Linked DNA regions of Homo sapiens: region 1 is linked to region 2. Evidence: promoter capture Hi-C in human tissues and cell types (Jung and others, 2019). All regions are on one chromosome and are shown on one strand. Each heading gives the region's core, a stretch centred on a gene start or on the middle of the fragment in contact. The rest is flanking DNA. Distances are from core to core; before and after follow the strand shown.

Region 1 (2,700 bases), core at 147-2,646, 170 kb after region 2:
CCACCACAACTGGCTAATTTTTGTACTTTTAGTAGAGACGGGGTTTCACCATGTTGGCCAGGCTGATCTTGAGCTCCTGACCTCAAGTGATCCACCCTTCTTCACCTCCCAAAGTGCTGGAATTACAGATGTGAGCCACCACACCAAGCCATATTTGCTTCAATATTCTAACACAAAATGATAGCTTAACCTATTATCCAATATTCCCACTTCTCAATAGGATGCAACTGCTATGCTTTCTTTGAAATAATTATTTTTGAAAATATTATTTCAAAGTGTAGTCCTCCTAGACAGTGCTAATTCTATTGGGATTTTAAAGGATTACACAAAATAGCCATCACATTTCACTTAATGTGCCCTATGTAATGCAGAACCCAGCCTGCTACAGCCACTTGGGAGGCTCTCGCCCACTGTCTCCTCCAGGCTCTCTCACATGCATCAAGGCTATGATCAAATGGGACATTCTCACTCCATCCCCTCCTAACCCCCAATTCAGATTGTAGCCCACCCCTCAGCAGTCCCTATCCGCTTTTCTTCATTTTGTTCCATAACTTTTGACACCTTCCAACATTCTACAGTTGTGCTTTTTTTTTTTTTTTTTTTTTGAGAGAGAGTCTAGCTCTGTCGCCCAGGCCAGAGAGCAGTGGCATGATCTTGGCTCACTGCAAGCTCCGCCTCCTGGGTTCACACCATTCTCCTGCCTCAGCCTCCCGAGTAAATGGGACTACAGGTGCATGCTACGACACCTGGCTAGTTTTTTTGTATTTTTAGTAGCGACGGGGTTTCACCATGTTAGCCAGGATGATCTCAATCTCCTGACCTCGTGATCCGCCCGCCTTGGTCTCCCAAAGTGCTGGGATTACAGGCGTGAGCCACCGCACATGCCCGGTTTTGCTAATTTCTTTAGTGAACTATTTGCTCTTCTGCACAAAATTGTAAGTTCCACGGGGATAGAATTTTTTTTATGGCTTTATTCTTTGCGTTATGTCCAGTGCCTAGAAAAGTACCTGGTAAGTGTTGTGAAGTATTTCCTGAATAGAGGTTGAATGTTGTGATAAGTTTCACTGTGACTCCTCATCTTGTACCTGCACTTGCAAGTTTCTTCTTGTCTGCCTGGGGCGTTGCGCTCAGCACCTTCAGCCCCCACCACTCAAGGTTCCTGTCTGCATGAGTGTAATCACCATCGAGTGTCAACAGCACCATCCCTTTCCCCACTCTCATTCAGAAGCTCCTCATCTGCTCTGGGATGGGACAAACTCACTCTTGTGTCATCATTCTGCCAAGTTTATTAAAACTCAAAATGTGAGTGTCTGCTCTTTTCTTTCTCTTTGTCCTTTTGTTAAAACTTCCCCTTTGAAAGAGGAGATGCCAAGGTTTAGACTAAATGGGAGAGAAATAGTGGGCAACTGGAGAACAAGGGAGGAAAACCACATTGGTTAATCTATCAAATCATTACATTTCTATATGATTAAGCATAAAATAAAATGTCTTTGAAGAAGTTATGCAGTCCAAGGGGTCTCTAACTAATGAGCAGGTCCTGAAGGACATGGTAAAGCCCATATCAAAGCTGAGTTAATTAGCATTTTATCCTGAAATGCATCCGTGGGGACAAGCAGTTCAGCTAAACTTTCATGAAACAAAGACAGCATTTGCGGGGTCTGTGTCTAACCTTGTCATAGGTGGGACATCCTTTGAGGGGGATCCGTGAGTCTTAGCTAAGTCAATGGGGAAGGGAAGTTCTTTGCAGTAAGGCAGGAACACAAGGTGGTGATTTCTTTAACCATCACTGTTTCCCAGTGCCTCAGGGCTCAAGTAGAACTCAACAGTGTCACTATCAGTACCTGAACATATTTAAAAGAAATAGCTTAAGACTCCAAATACTTATTTACTGTGGAACTGCCAAACAACTGTGTTCATGGATTTTGAAAATATTGTGACATGCTGCATCTTGCCATCTGGGACATGTTCCAGACTCAAATGAATCCCATGAACATAAGATTAGCCACAGACAGAATTGTGAAGAATAACAAAACACCTTTAACTACATGGGTAATTCAGAATCTAAGTGAAAAAAAGAAAACTGGAATGCATGGGGCCACTCTGTGAGTTACGAGGTGCATGATTCAGGCCATTCCTTTCAACCACAACCACAGATGCAAAAGACAGTGGAACTGAGTAACTTGCAGTCTTGTCATGAGCACAAGAATCAAGAAGATCGAGAAATAGCTGTTTCTCTATGGAATTTTCTTTCTTTTTATTTATTTATTTATTTATTTATTTATTTATTTATTTATTTATTTTGAGATGGAGTTTAGCTCTTGTCGACCAGGCTGGAGTGCAATGGTGCAATCTCTGCTCTCTGCAACCTCTGCTTCCTGGGTTCAAGTGATTCTCCTGCCTCAGCCTTCCAAGTAGCTGGGATTATAGGTGCCCGCCACCACACCCAGCTAAGTTTTTGTATTTTTAGTAGAGACGGTGCTTCACCATGTTGGCCAGGCTGGTCTCGAACTCCTGACCTCAGGCGATCCACCCACCCTGGCCTCCCAAAGTGCTGGGAATACAGGTGTAAGCCACCATGCCCAGCTCTCTATGTAATTTTCTAATCTTCAATTTTGTAATCTTTCATTTTATTCTATAGAAGACTGAAGATTATCTATAGAAATTGAAGATTTTCTGGAGAAAACTCTGTATATTCAATCT
Region 2 (2,700 bases), core at 42-2,541:
CATGTACCCCACAAATATGTACATTATGTACCAAAAAAAAAAACTAAAATAAGCAGCAAAAACCACTTCCAGCTAGCATGGTGCTTACGAAATGCCTAAGCTCAGTTATCAGCCAATGAGAGGCATTATAAGATCACCACCATAAAATGGAGGAACTGATGAACTGCAGTTTTCATCTTTAAAAAAATTTTTTGTCCCATTTCCTGTCTTTAGAAACTAGCCTCTGGGCTGGATGGGATTCCCAGCTTCTCCTGTAAAATGCAAAATTGAGGGCTCAAATTGTGGTTTCAATTTACACGTTTCACAGTCCTCTGAGAAGAGACTAAGGTTGGAGGATGCAGGAAGGCCTTAAATAATTCACCTTTTGACTCAAGTGCTCTGAAGATTCCCCAAGCATTTTTGGAAACAGAACACTACCTGGTTGAGACTGGGTTCAAGTACACCACACAGCTACGTTCTGGTGGTGCTCAAGGGGCAAATGCTGTGCTAAATACAAGTCAAGACTGGATTTTAGTGTGGCAAGGCGCATTAACTCAGAGGAAAAAGTGAGGATTTACATCCCACCTGCTAATACTGTGGGTAAACGGATTTCTCTCTCTGAATCTTTAATAGTCACATTTATTTTAATAGAGATGGTTAAGTCGAAAGGATGGTTACGATGATTAAATGAGCCAATAATGAAAACAGCATGTTTTGTAATAATAGAAGCAGCTCACCTTTATTGAGTCCTGTATCATACTTTACATCTATTACCCTATTCAGTACCCAAAGGCCCCCATCATTTGCCAGATGCGCGTCGAGCCGCACTGGGACCACCTACAGACGCTGGACCAGAGCCCACGTCCCTGCGGCTTTGGAGCGCCGCGTCTGCAGCGGCCAGCGCGCCTCACATGGCGGCTCCGGTCACGTCACACAATGCGGCTGCTCCGGGCGCCCACTGCCCAGCACCGCAGGCCTCCTCTGGCCGCCCCTCAAGCAGGTCGCGCAAACGCCATTCCGGGCAGGGGCGCCAGCGCAGCCAGCCAACCTCCCCACCAGGCGGCTCCCACCCAGGGCCCTCCGCGGAGGCCGCTCCGGGGCCAGGAGGCGGCTTCCAGGCTCGAGACCCCGCCTCCCAGGCCCTGCCCGCCCGCAAAAGCCTTCGACACACCTGCAGGGTCTCGGCCTCTGCTCCCGGCCCGCGCCGGGCCCAGGCCCCGCCCTTTGCGGCCCAGCCCAGACCCGGAGGCACCGGAGTCCTCTCCCCACCCTAGGGCGTAAGACCAAAAAAACGCCAATGCCAGAAAGAAGACACTGCACATGCGCAGAACGTTTCCCTAGCCCTACTCCAGAACTACGCTTCCCAGAAGGCCCGGCTGCGACTCCATCTTGGATGACGTCGTGAGGCGCGGCCGCCTCCAGCGGCCTGAGTGATTGCTGTCGGGTTTCCGGGAGAGGGCGCTGTCCTTGCTCAGTGATGGCCGGAGAGCTGCACCCTGCACGTCTGGGCTTGAAGACAGAAATCCACCGTGAGGTGCTCCAAGGAACACTGATGGGCAGTTTTGTTAAAGTGATTGAACTCCGTGGGTACAGGAGTACGTGGAGTAATGAAGGATAATGCCCTGTAACCGCTTCCTCTTAGGAATGCTAGCTTTCACAATTGTGCAAACGGTACGCGAAACGTAATAAACTACAAAATATGTATAAGCTAAAACAGAAAACGAGTATACCACTTCCCAAAAGCAAAAGCGCTTAATGTTAGGTGAACATCCTTCTCATGAATTTACACAAATTTTAACCTAATGGTATAGAGTATCATGACTATCATTTCACTAAGGAATATATATAGTCATCCCTCCTTATCCTGGGGGTGCATATCTATGGATTCAACTAAGCTCAGAATGAAAATACTTAAAAATTCTATCTTACTGAACATGTACAAAGTTTCCCCCTTGTCATTATACCCTAAACAATACAATAAAACTATTTACATAGTATTTACATTGTGTTAGGTGTACAATTAATCTAGACATAATTTAAAATATACAGGAGGAGGTGTGTAGGTTATGCAAATATCAGGTTATTTTCTACCAGAGACTTGAACATCCCTGGATTTGAGTAATCCAGGGAGGTCCTGGTACTAATCCCCCGCGGATACAGAGAGAGGACTTGGCTGTATATGTAAAACAAATTATATATTTCCTGGTCAATAACTTTATTACATTAAAACATGTAGAATCATCTAGAAAAAAACGTATATATTGTCATGTGTATAAACACACATATATATACATATAAAAATATGCGCACATAATACACACACACACACCACCTTTCTGGATGGGAAGTATTGAGGAAATAATTTAAAATAAAGCCTCTTGCCAACCCAGAAAATTCTCTCCACAGATGGAGAAAAGAACAAAACAGTTACATTATTGAATAAACATTAAACCAGACTGCGATGTGCGTCACAGGCAACCCACTAATGAGTTTATGAAGACAGGAAGAACTATCATTTTTTGTATTAGCCGGTCTGGTACAACGCATTCTATTTCCTCAAGGTAAAAATAACTTGTCCTCAAGTAAGATGACTGTACAGCAACATTTGCTATGCATAATTCATCTGAAATTCACCTGATAATTAGGGTAGCCATCAGTGTTAGTTAATTGCCATTATGCAAATGAAAAGTAAAGTTTCTGGTATCTCTATGACACGCAGGT

What was found. Contacts are between HindIII fragments. The study calls those that stand out against the background at their distance.
Region 1: a contact is called between a fragment that was not itself captured here and the fragment with the promoter of ZNF25 in region 2, in 1 of the 25 tissues and cell types used here (stomach).

Annotation. Positions count from the first base shown.
Region 1 is chr10:38,148,988-38,151,687 of GRCh38, forward strand. It overlaps a transcript of ZNF37A not described here. Among named protein-coding and RNA genes, the nearest start is that of ZNF37A, 56 kb to the left of the region's middle. The HindIII fragment of the contact is 5,746 bases long and covers 1-2,700 here.
Region 2 is chr10:37,975,356-37,978,055 of GRCh38, forward strand. It overlaps ZNF25 (zinc finger protein 25), which reads right to left and starts at 1,292. Exons shown (of 6, transcript NM_145011.4): 1 at 1,151-1,292. ZNF25-DT (ZNF25 divergent transcript) reads left to right here and starts at 1,400. Exons shown (of 6, transcript XR_930830.4): 1 at 1,400-1,650. RefSeq lists enhancers at 176-265, 1,306-1,535 and a silencer at 856-1,265. The HindIII fragment of the contact is 22,972 bases long and covers 1-2,700 here.